Linked DNA regions of Homo sapiens: region 1 is linked to region 2. The links are contacts of gene promoters, found by promoter capture Hi-C in human tissues and cell types (Jung and others, 2019). All regions are on one chromosome and are shown on one strand. The core of a region is centred on a gene start or on the middle of the fragment in contact, and the rest is flanking DNA. Distances in the headings are between cores, read along the strand shown.

The links. Contacts are between HindIII fragments. The study calls those that stand out against the background at their distance.
Region 1: a contact is called between a fragment that was not itself captured here and the fragment with the promoter of PPP1R14D in region 2, in 3 of the 25 tissues and cell types used here (aorta, heart left ventricle and lymphoblastoid cells).

Annotation. Positions count from the first base shown.
Region 1 is chr15:40,701,269-40,707,952 of GRCh38, forward strand. It overlaps RAD51 (RAD51 recombinase), which reads left to right. Exons shown (of 10, transcript NM_002875.5): 4 at 4,909-5,026. Among named protein-coding and RNA genes, the nearest start is that of RAD51, 9.4 kb to the left of the region's middle. The HindIII fragment of the contact is 4,221 bases long and covers 2,417-6,637 here.
Region 2 is chr15:40,826,833-40,833,150 of GRCh38, forward strand. PPP1R14D (protein phosphatase 1 regulatory inhibitor subunit 14D) reads right to left here and starts at 1,876. Exons shown (of 4, transcript NM_017726.8): 1 at 1,555-1,876. The coding sequence starts at 1,809. The HindIII fragment of the contact is 14,686 bases long and covers 1-6,318 here.

The sequences.
Region 1 (6,684 bases), core at 3,277-5,776, 120 kb before region 2:
ACTTCTTCCTTCTATCTCTTATTCTTCGGTCATCTCATTATCCTTTCCAGGGGTGACTGTTACCTGTTTCTTTTCTTCTTTTCTTTTCTTTTCTTTTTTTTTTCTTTCTTTTTTTTTTTTTTTGGAGACGGGTTCTCGCTCTGTCACACAGGGTGGAGTGCAGTGGTGCCATCTCAGCTCACTGCAACCTTCACCTCCCAAGCTCAAGCGATCCTCTCACCTCAGCCTCCCAAGTAGCTGGGACTACACTACAGGCACATGCCACCATGCCGGGGTAGTCTCGAACTCCTGAGCTCAGGCGATTCACCTACCTCAGCCTCCCAAAGTGCTGGATTATAGGTGTGAGCTACTGTGCCTGGCCTATTTATTTTTCTAGCTTCATATAGTTCTTTAACATACATACTTCCCCATGGTTACATTTTGTTTTATGAACCTATTTCTTCAGTGTTTATATAGTTACACAGTTTTATTGCCTTTACCCTTGAAGTTTTATGTAGTATAAAGCAGATTTTTTTTTTTTTTTTTTTTTTTTTTGAGACGGAGTCTCGCTCTGTTGCCAGGCTGGAGTGCAATAGCGTGATCTTGGTCTACTGCACCCTCCGCCTCTCAGGTTCAAGTGATTCTCCTGCCTCAGCCTCCCGAGTAGTTGGGACTACAGGTATGTGCCACCACACCCAGCTAATTTTTGTATTTTTATTAGAGACAGGGTTTCACCACGTTGGCCAGGATGGTCTCGATCTCCTGACCTTGTGATCTGCCCACCTCAGCCTCCTAAAGTGCTGGGATTACAGGTGTGAGCCACCGCGCCCCACCGCAAATATTTATTTATAAAATTGTATTTTCACGTATCGATTACTGTTAGCGTTAGATAAATTTATTGGATTACTCAAATGAATATTTGCTGAAGTGGTTGCTTAATTGGAAATAAGGGTTCTGAGTCCCTAACAGTATTTTTGTTAAAAGATTGTCATATTGACTAAGCCAGTAGGGGTCCCTAAAGTCTTTCTGTTTTCGCTTTTTGGGTATCAGTTTTTGTGAATGAACAAATGCTGACAGGATCTTTTCTTTTTGCCTTGCGAGATCTTGGTTTCAGAAATCAAGTCACTTCTCTGTTTCTATGAACACAACAATGCAAACCTAGAATACATGATTTGAGATGCAATATGGTATAGACTTACGTGTCTTTACTTTTCAATATTTTATGTTCTTTGTTTCTGGCCAGTAAAGATTATGATTGTATTGTTTGTTTTCTGTTTTTTTTTGAGGCAGAGTGTCGCTGTGTCACCCAGGCTGGAGCACAATGGTGCAATTTTGGCTCTGCTCACTGCAACCTCTGCCTTCCGGGTTCAAGTGATTGTCGTGCCTCAGCCTCCCAAGTAGCTGGGATTACAGGCTCCCACCACCACACGTGGCTAATTTTTGTATTTTCAGTTGAGACGGGGTTTCACCATGTTGCCCAGGCTGGTCTCAAACTCCTGGCCTCAAGCAATCTGCCCACCTCAGCCTCCCAAAGTGCTGAAATTACAGGCACTAGCCACTGTGCCCACCTTTTTTTTTTTTTTTTAAAGAAAAAAAAGAAAAGTCTCACTCTGTTGCCCAGGCTGGAGTGCAGTGGCATGATCAAAGCTCACTGCAGCTTCAGCTTCAAACTCCTGGGCTCAAGGAATTCTCAGCCTGCTGAGTAGCTGGGACTATAGGCACATGCCACTAGCCTGACCATTTCTACCAGTTTTGTCTTTGCTAATACATTCTCCTGTTTTTCACCAAAGGAAGTAGTCTATATTCCTTGAGCTCCCATGGCTTGTTAGTACTTCTCATATTACCCATCACATCTACTTGTACTATAGTTATTTTGTATAGTTTATCTTTCTGATTAAGTTATAAGCTCTGTGGAGGCAGGAATCAGCTCTTCTTTTTCTCCATATCCTTCAGAGTCCCTGGGACTATGTTTCATACGAAGTAAGTGTCTAGTACATGTTTGTTGCACTGAAATGACAGTGAGTATATGAATTGGCCAGGCTGGTCTCAAAATCCTGGCCTCAGGTAATCCGCCCATCTCAGTATCCCAAAGTGCTGGGATTACAGGCGTGAGCCACTGCACCTGGCCGTGCAATGAATTTTTAAATGAAATATTAAGTATATAGAAAAGTTTAGAGAATAAACTTTCATTGATTTTTCAGCTATTTGTTGATTTTTTTTCTTCATGGGAAATTTAAACATTATGAAAGTTTAATCTTTTTACTTTCTATGGGTCTATTTAGATTTTCTTCTTGAGTGAGTTTTGGTAGTTTATCTTTCTAAGAATTTGCTTATTTCATCTAAGTTACCTAACTTGTTGACATAGAGATGCTCACAGGGTTTCCTTATACTACTTTTTATTTACATAAAGTCAGTAGTAATGTCCCCTCTTTCATTCTTGATTTTAGTAATTTGAGTCTTTTCTCTTTTTTTCTCGGGCAATGCAGCTAAAAGTTTGTCAATTTTGTTGATATTTTCAAAGAACCAGCTTTTGGTTTCATTGATTTTTCTCTATTATTCTGCCCTCTACTTAATAGTTTCTACCCTAACCTGTATTATTTCCATCTTTCTGCTTGCTTTGTTTTGTTTGCTTTTCTTTGGAAGGTTAGGTTATGATTTATCTTTTTTATTTTTAGAGGCAGAGTCTTGTTCTGTCACTTACGTTGGAGTGCAGTGGTGTGATCATAGCTCACTGCAGCCTCCAACTCCTGGCTCAAACAAACCTTCTGCCTCAGCCTCCCAGGTAACTAGGACCACAGGCACGCCCCACCATGCCCTGCTATTTATTTTATTTTATTTTATTTTTGAGACGGAGTCTCCCTCTGTGCCCAGGCTGGAGTGCAGTGGCGTGATCTCTGCTCACTGCAACCTCTGCCTCTTGGGTTCAAGCGATTCTCCTGCCTCAGCCTCCTGAGTGGCTGGGATTACAGGCACGTGCCGCCATGCCCAGCTAATTTTTAGTAGAGACAGGGTTTCACCGTGTTAGCCAGGATGGTCTTGATCTCCTGACCTCATGATCTGCCTGCCTCAGCCTCCCAAAGTGCTGGGATTACAGTCGTGAGCCACCGCGCCAGGCCTTTTTTTTTTTTTTTTCTGATGCAGTCTCACTCTCTTGCCCAGGCTGGAGTGCGGTGGTGTGATCTCGGCTCACTGCAACCTCCGCCGCCCGGGTTCAAGCAGTTCTCCTGTTTCAGCCTCCTGAGTAGTTGGGACTACAGGCGCACGCCACCACGCCCAGCTATTTTTTGTATTTTTAGTAGAAATGGGGTTTCACCATATTGGGCAGGCTGGTCTTGAACTCCTGACTTCGTGATCTGCCCACCTCACCCTACCAAAGTGCTGGGATTCAGGCATGAGCCACCATGCCCAGCCATGCCCTACTAATTTTTTTTTTTTTTTTTGAGATGGAATCTCGCTGTGTCTCTCAGGCTGGAGTGCAGTGGTGCAAATTCAGCTCACTGCAACCTCCGCCTCCCAGATTCAAGTGATTCTTCCACCTCAGCCTCCCGAGTAGCTGGGACTACAGGCGCGTGCCACCACGCCCGGCTAATTTTTGTATTTTTAGTAGAGAGGAAGTTTCACCATGTTGGTCAGGCTGGTCTTGAACTCCTGACCTTGTGATCTGCCCACCTCAGCCTCCCAAAGTTCTGAGATTACAGAGGTGAGCCACCACACCCAGCCACCCTGCTAATTTTAAAACATTTTTAGAGCCAGGGTGCTGCTTTGTTACTCAGGCTGGTCTCAAACTCCTGGCTTCCAGCAGTCCTCCCACCTCAGCCTCCCAAAGTGCTGGGATTACAGGTGTGATTCACCACACCCAGCCTTCTTTTCTAATATAGCTGTTTATAGCTATGAATTTCTCTCTAAGCACTGCTTTTCTTGGAGCCCATACGTTTTGGTATATCTTCGTTTTCATTCATTGCAAAAACATTTTCTGATTTCCCTTGTCATTTCTTCTTTGACTTGTTGCTTATTTAGGAGTGTGTTGCTTTATTTTTGCATATTTGTGAATGCACTTACTTTTCAATTTTAGAATCAACCCATAGTGCTATTACAGAACACTTATCTGTAATTACAAAATAGAATGTGAATGTTCTCAGCCAGACAATATGAAAGAAAAGGTACAGCTGATAGAGGTGGGGAAGTAGCCATGGAGAGAGAAAAGATTGAAGGGCAAATGTCCTCATTTTTACAAAGTAGGAAGTTAAGGGATACAGTCTGCGGTTGATGGAGCAGGAAATGAAGGTGTACTGTATTGTCATTTTTGTCATAAATTGGGCAAAACACATATGTACGGATCTCTAATAGTTTTTTGTTTTGTTTTGTTTTGTTTTTTGAGACAGAGTCTCGCTCTGTCCCCCAGGCTGGAGTACAGTGGCGCGATCTCGGCTCACTGCAAGCTCCGCCTCCCGGGTTCACGCCTTTCTCCTGCCTCAGCCTACCAAGTAGCTGGGACTTCAGGCACCCGCCACCACGCCCGACTAATTTTTTGTATTTTTTTAGTAGAGATGGGGTTTCACCATGTTAGCCAGGATGGTCTCGATCTCCTGACGTTGTGATCCGCCTGCCTTGGCCTTCCAAAGTGCTGGGATTACAGGCGTGAGCCATCGCACCCGGCCGGATCTATAATAGTTTTTAAAACTATATTAATATATTAACTTGAATTGGCAATTTAAAAATTGATCTTCATGGAATCTCTGAATTAGATTATCCTTTTTTATGACTTTCTAAAGAGAAATCATCCTGGTAATTTTATTTGATATTTTCTCTTCCCATTGCACACCTTGTTTTACTAATATTTCTTTTTTCTTTATATATATTTTTTTGCCATCAAGATCACTGTGGTAAGGAATATTATTTTGTTGATTTAATATTTCTTATTTTTCCCAGGCTGAGGCAGCTAAATTAGTTCCAATGGGTTTCACCACTGCAACTGAATTCCACCAAAGGCGGTCAGAGATCATACAGATTACTACTGGCTCCAAAGAGCTTGACAAACTACTTCAAGGTGTAGTAATCCTTTATCCTGTGTTGTGAACTCTAGTTAGGAAAGCTTCCAGGTTATAAAACAAAACTGAAATATTTGTGTAGCATTTCCTTGTTAGATAATGATAAAGAGATAGAGGAAGGCCAGGTGCAGTGGCTTATGCCTGTAATCTCAGCACTTTGGGAGGCTGAGGTGGGCAGATCACCTGAGGCTGGGAGTTCGAGACCAGCCCAGCCAACATGGAGAAACCTATTAAAAATACAAAATTAGTTGGGCATGGTGGCACATGCCTGTAATCCCTGTAGGTGCACATGCCTACTCGGGAGGCAGAGGCAGGAGAATCACTTGAACCCGGAAGACGGAGGTTGCTGTGAGCCAAGATTGTGCCACTGCACTCCAGCCTGGGTGACGAGCAAAACTCTGTCTCAAAAACAAAGAGAGATAAAGGAAGTATCCACATTGAAGAGGTAAGACTGCTGCAAGGTAGGACCTTATTTATAAAATACTAAACTTATCTGCAAATTAAATAATTTAGTCTCCATTTAATATTGTGTTAAGAGAGTAAGCTCCTTTTGCTTAAGGAGGTAACTGTAATTATAACCTACTCTACCACAGGGTTGAAAACCTGATGACTGGTTAAAACATTCCATGTTTGAATACTACTCATTGTGTACACACTAATCTTCAGGACTTCAGGGAAAACTATAAAGCTTTTGACCTTATTATTTATTTTTCGAGACAGGGTCTCACTCTGTCACCCAGGCTGGAGTGCAGTGGCATGGTCTCAGCTCACTGCAACCTCTGCTTCCTGGGCTCAAGTGATCTTCTAGCCTCAGTCTCCCCAAGCTAGGACTATGATCATTTACCACCTGGCTAATTTTTTTTTTTTTTTTTTTTTTTTTTGAGTCGGGGCATCACTCATTATGTTGCCCAGGCTGGTCTCAAAATCCTGAGCTCAAGCCATCCTCCTGCCTCAGCCTCCCAAAGTGCTGGGATTATAGGCTTGAGCCACCTTGCCTGGCCCAATGTCAGTTTTCTTTCCCTTTTTTTTGAGACAGAGTCTCACTCTGTTACCCAGGCTGGAGTGCAGTGGCATAATCTCAGCTCACTGCAACCTCCGCCTCCTGGGTTCAAGTGATTCTCCTGCCTCAGCCTCCCAAGTAGCTGGGACTACAGGCAAGTGCCACCATGCCCAGCTAATTTTTGTATTTTTAGTAGAGATGAGGTTTCACCACGTTGGCTAGGTTGGTCTCGAACTCCTGACCTCAGATGATCTACCCGCCTCAGCCTCCCAAAGTGCTGGGCTTACAGGCGTGAGCCATCATGCCTGGCCCCCAATGTCAGTTTTCTAATATCAGTGCTATACTATCATTATGCAAGAGGTTAACACTGCAGAAGGCTAGGTGCATAGAAATTTCGTATGTTTTTTTTTGTTGTTGTTGGTTTGTTTGTTTGTTTTTTAAAGACAGAGTCTTGCTCTGTTGCCCAGGCTAGAATGCAGTGGCACAATCTCGGCTCATTGCAACCACTGACTCCCAGGTTTGAGCAGTTCTCCTGCCTCAGTCTCCTGAGTAGCTGCAATGACAGGCACCCGCCACCGTGCCTGGCTAATTTTTGTATTTTTAGTAGAGACGGGATTTCACCGTCTTGGCCAGGCTGGTCTCAAAGTCCTGACCTCC
Region 2 (6,318 bases), core at 626-3,125:
GGAGTTGTGGGAAGGATTAAATGAAAGAATGCATGTCAGTGCCTGGCATTGAGCCTAGCACGTAGTTGTGTTCAGAATGTTATTCTTATTGCTGGAACAGCAGTTCTTACCTCTCTAGAATCCAGGTTTAAAGGTATATAAGTAAGAAAGTGCCGTTTCCAGTAACCAGGGACCAAGACCTGTCCTTTTCCCAGAGTGGGGTTGAAGAGTGTTAGTCAGAGCCAGGGTCAAAGATTGCTTAGGTCCTGGTATTGGCACTCAACTTTGGTTACTCTTAACATTCTAGTCCCGCACTGTCCATTCTGAAATAACGAAAATATTCTATATTTGTGCTGACAACATAGTAGTCACTAGCCACATGGGGCTATTTAACACTTGAGATGTGGCCCATGTTGGCTGGGTGCGGTGGCTCACGCCTGTAATCCCAGCACTTTGGGAGGCTGAGGTGGGCAGATCACCTGAGGTCGAGAGTTCGAGACCAGCCTGACCAACATGGAGAAACCCCGTCTCTACTAAAAATACAAAATTAGTCGGGCACAGTGGCGCATGCCTGTAATCCCAGCTACTCGGGAGGCTGAGGCAGGAGAATCGCTTGAACTTGGGAGGCGGAGGTTGCAGTGAGCCAAAATCACGGCATTGCACTCCAGGCTGGTTTACAGAGTAAGACTGTCTCAAAAAAAGGCAAAAGAAAAAAGAAATGTGGCCCATGTGACTGGGGAACTGAATAATTTTATTTAATTATAACTCATTTAAAGTCAAACAGCTACACATGGCTGATGGCTACAGAATTGGAAAATGTAGCTCTAGGCTGGGCATGGTGGTGCACACCTGTAATCCCAGCACTTTGAGAGGCCGAGGCAGGCAGACTGTTTGAGCCAAGGAGTTCAAGACCAGCCTGGGCAACATGGTGAAAAGCCGTCTCTACAAAAAAAAATACAAAAAAATTTGCCAGGCGTGGTGGTGCGCACCTGTAGTCCCAGCTACTCAGGAGGCTGAAGTGGGAGGATGGCTTGAACCCAGCAGGCAGAGCAGTGAGCTGAGATTGCACTACTGCATTCCAGCCTGTGCAACAGGGCAAGACTTTGTCTCAAAAACAAACAAACAAACAAAAAACAAAAGAAAGAAAGAAAGAAAGAAACAAAGAAAAAGAAAAGAAACGAAAATGTAGCTCCGGACATGTATGTGCATTGAACATGGGAGTAAATAAAGATATAAAATTTTGAAACATAGTGTGACCAAGCATTTTCCCTTCTATTGTCTCATTTGAGCCTCAGAAAGTCCTATAAAGGAGATATGACAGGCACTAACAGCCCTATTATAGATTAGGGATGTTAAAAGACCTTCCCCAGATCACAAAGAGCATTAGAGGCACAGACAAGCCTAGAGGGAGGCAGACTTCTGGACTTCAAACCGATGCTTCTTTCTTTCATCAGTTACAAAAGCTTTCTCTTCACGGAAGCACCTCACATCAGCCCTCCAGCTCCTGTGAAGGTCTCAGTGCCCTGGGTGGACCCCAGGCCCCCATCTCCTCCCACTATCCGCTGTGCTACCTACCTGGAAGAGCTCCTGAACTTGAGCATCCACCCATTGCTCCATCTCCAGCCAGCGCTGGAGCTGGCCCCGGTCATACTTCACTGTCAGGCGGCTGGGTCTCCGGGACCTGGGTATCTTGGAGGAGTCCGGGTGGGACTTGGACTCTGAGTCTGTGGATGATGTCCTTCTCCTCCCAGAAGCCCAGTGGACCTTCTTACATGGGTTCTCCCCATCTGGGCTGGGAGATGTGCAGGAAGCAGGGCTTGAAGACAGCATGGAAGTATTGGTCTGGGCAAGGAGCTGGGAAAAACCGCCAGTTCTGAGCAGAGCCACAGAGGGAAGTGAGGAGACAGAGAACAGGAGAGGCCAGCAGAGAAGAAATGAAGGCAGGAGGAGGGCCAAGGCTCCCAGGGAGGGGCAAGGGCAAAGATCAATAGGACTTTGGTGCTGGGAATGCCAGTCTCCTGGCTCCTCACTGCCAGCCAGTGAGTGGCACTCCAGAGCCATGCCCCAGCCTCCCTTTCTGCAGCTTCTAGGGCCCAAAGTGGCATAAACTGCAGATGAGCAAAGGTCAAGAGGCTGCCATGCCCAGGGAGGAGGAAGGGGCCCTGGGGTCCTGAAGGGTACAGGGCTCCAATCGCTGCTCTATGGCCAGCTCTGGAATGGGACCTGAGTCGTTCTCACCTGAGATCCCTCTGTATCCCACCTTCCTGGGGCTGGATCCACTCTGGGCTCTGAGAAGCTGTGGTCAGATTCCGCAGAAGCAGGGTCCCTGGCTGGCAGGGATTCTTACTCAGAGCGTAGCACTACTGGGGGCAGAGCCCCAGCTGGTAGATAGAGTTGGAGGTCAGTTATTGATGGCTCCCGTAGGACCAGTGCCCCCAGTGTCTGGGTGTGTCCGAATGTAAACTGCTATCAGCCTGGCCTATAAAGGCAGTTTACCTGCTTGTAAAGGCAAATTTATCAAGACTTGTCTACTATGCCCGCTCCCCTGAGGCAACTGCTTAGGAAGCCATGTTTATTACCACGTGACCCTCCCCCGATTCATGTATTTGCTGACACAGAGGAAACCTGCAAACCTAACTTATACACAGGTGTCAGGGACTAATACTTCCAGGCATACATACTTGCATTCTAAGGCAGGGTATTTTTGTTTAGTCTTTTATAATGAAAATTTCTAAACTTTAAAAAAAAAAAGTGACAGAAGAACACTGTAATTTTTTTTTTTTTTTTTTTGAGATGGAGTCTCGCACTGTCACCCAGGCTGGGGGGCAATGCTGCGATCTTGGCTCACTGCAACATCCGCCTCCCAAGTTCAAGCAATTCTCCTGCCTCAGCCTCCCAAGAAGCTGGGATTACAGGCGCCCACCACCATGCCCGGATAATTTTTTGTATTTTTAGTAGAGACGAGGTTTCACTATGTTGCCCAGGCTGGTCTCAAATGCCTGACCTCATGATCCACCCGCCTCGGCCTCCCAAAGTGGTGGGATTACTGGAGTGAGCCACCGTGCCCAGCCTGTAATTTTTTTAAAATGGGGCCAGGCATGGTGGCTCACGCCTGTAATCCCAGCACTCTGGGAGGCCGAGGCGCGTGGATTGCTTGAGCTCAGGAGTTCAAGACCAGCCTGGGCAAAATGGTGAAATTCTCTCTCTACCAAAAAAAAAAATAATAATAATACAAAAAATTAGCTGCTTTGGGAGACCCAGGCGGGAAGATTGCTTGAGGCCAGTAGTTCAAGACCAGTCCGGGCAACACAGTGAGATCTTGTCTCCATTAAAAAATGTAAACAATGGGCCAGGCACGGTGGCTCATGCCTGTAATCCCAGCACTTTGGGAGGCTGAGGTGGACAGATGACTTGAGGTCAGGAGTTTGAGATCAGCCTGGCCAACATGGCAAAACCCTGTCTCTACTAAAAATACAAAAATTAGCCGGGCGTGGTGGCACACGTCTGTAGCCCCAACTATTCAGGAGGCTGAGGGAGGAGAATCGCCTGGGCCCAGGAGGCGGAGGTTGCAGTGAGCCGAGATCATGCCACTGCACTCCAGCCTGGGTGACAGAGCAAGACCCCGTCTCAAAAAAAAAAAAAAAAAAAAAGTAAAAAATGAAAAGCAAGATTACTCAGATATGGTGGTGCACACCTGTCATCCTAGCTGCTTGGAAGGTGGGAAAATCACTTCAGCCCAGGAGTTCAAGGCTACAGTGAGCTACAATGGCAACACTGCACTTAAGCATGGGTGACAGAGCAAGACCCTGTCTCAAAAAAGGAAAAAGGCGAATGGATGACAGTTTAATGATGAAATTTTAGGCCCTCACTTAAGAAGATAAGGGAGGTGTTTGAGTGGCTGGAAACTAAGATGGCAGCCAGGAAAAGCCCAGGCTTTGGAGGAAGGCTGACAATCTGAGTTCAACTCAGCTTTGCCCTGCATTGGTTTTATAATCCTTGGCCAAGTTTCATAGCCTGTTTTCACATCTGCAGATTGGGCTTGTTGGGAAGATAAAATGAGATGATGCATGTAAACATTTAGCATGGCATCTGAAACAGAGTCCCTGTCAGTAGACATTCATTCCTGTCCTTTATTTACCTCCCCACTCTCCCTGCCCTCCTGGCGAGGCTCTGGTGGTCAATGCCTGGGCTTTCATCAGTGTGGCTCTCTTCCTGAGCAGGAGGAGGGGGGCCTCTAGGATGCATCTTGTTGACTCAGCTGTCACTTTAACAGTCTGTGGCCAGGAGGCATTATTATGGTAGTTCCCTGCCTCTTCTGTTTCCTATCTTCTGAAGGGTTTGAGAGCCCTTTCGGGAAAAGAAACTAGATGAGAAGAGTCACTGTGTTTTGTTCATTTATTTACTCACTCATTTAACAAAGATTTTATGAGCTCCCCTGGTAGGCCAAACATTATGCTCAGTGGTTATTCAAGAGCCACAGGATGGGCACGGTGGGTCACACCTGTGATCCCAGCACTTTGGGAGGCTGAGGCGAGAAGATTGCTTGAAGTCAGGAGTTCAAGACCAGCCTGATCAACATAGTGAGACCTTGTCTCTGTAAAAACTAAACAAAGGGCAGGCACGGTGGCTCACACCTGTAATCCCAACAGTTTGGGAGGCTGAGGTGGGTGGATCACCTGAGGTCAGGAGTTTCAGACCAGCCTGGTCAACATGGTGAAACCTCATCTCTGCTAAAAATACAAAAAGTTAGCCAGGCGTGGTGGTGGGTGCCTGTAATCCCAGCTACTTGGGAGGCTGAGGCAAGAGAATTGCTTGAACCCAGGAGACGGAGGTTGCAGTGAGCTGAGATCGTGCCATTGCACTCCAGCCTGGGCAACAAGAGCGAAACTCTGTCTCAAAAAAACCCCAAAAAATAACAACAACAACAATAACAACAAAAAACAAACAAAACAAAAAACAAACAAAGAAGAACAAAAGAGACACAGTCCCTGCCTTCATGGAAGGAACTTATAGTCTAGTGTGAAAATAAACAAACAATAATCAACTCATCAAATAAATGTAAAATTGCAATTTCATTTAGTGATTTGAAGAAAAGTAGGAGGTGCTATATGAATGTCTAATGGAGGTGTAACCTGGAAAGTGATAACATCTGGACTGAGTTCTGACAGATGAGTAGAAGTTAAACTGGCCTAGGAGCCAGCAGGGATGGGCCTGGCAGAATGCAGAGGACATGCAAAGGCCCTGTGGCAGAAGGGAGATGGTGAGTACAAGGGACTAAGAGGGTCAATGGGGCTGGAACAGAGGGAGGAGAGAGGGAAAAGTGAGGCAGGAGAAAGGGTTGAGGTACCCAGGCAGGGCCCTGTAAGCCACGTTGAGGAATTTTGTCTCCATCTTAAGGGCATTGGGCAGGCACTGAAGAGTCTTAAGCAATGGTGCTTGGGCAAGTTGACATGTTCAGATTTAAACTTCCAAACAATCACCGTGGCTGTTGCACAGAAAGACAATCAGAGGGCACAGAAGGGCTGGTGGAGGCCAGTTGGAAGGCCATTGCAGTAAAGCTAGTAGGGGAGGTAGTGCTGTCAATGGCAAGAAGCAGGCAAATTGGACAGCTATTTAGGAGGTAACGTTTAACAGATATTGACTGGTAATGGGCTGGGGACACACAAACATGCAAACTTTATGAAAGCCTACACAGGGACAGACAGATGCATACATGCAGCCTCTGTGAACATGTTTCAGGCCGGGCGCGGTGGCTCATGCCTGTAATCCCTGCACTTTGGGAGGCTGAGTCGGGCGGATCACCTGAAGTCAGGAGTTCGAGACCAGCCTCACCAACATGGAGAAACCCCGTCTCTACTAAAAATACAAAATTAGCCGGGCGTGGTGGCACATGCCTGTAATCCCAGCTACTAGGGAGGCTGAGGCAGGAGAATCGCTTGAACCTGGGAGGCGGAGGTTGCGGTGAGCCGAGATCGCGCCATTGCACTCCAGCTTGGGCAACAAGAGCAAAACTCCATCTCAAAAAAAAAAAAACCACCAAAAAACGAAAAACAAAGCAAACAAAAAAAAAACATGTTTCATTCGTAAACTGGGGGTTGATAAGATTCTATATGAGCACACAGCATGGATACCATGAAGCTTGATGGCACACTAATGAGTGATGTCCATTATTTATAGCAAGAGGCTCCTTATTATATCCTTCCAACTTAGCACTGACCCACATCTCCTCCCTGGCCTATTGGTACCACCATTCATCAGTAAGTTTGCCCAAAGATAAGGGAGCTCAAGATCCAAGATGAGATAAGAGATAAAAGCCACCAGGAGCACACAGCCACATCA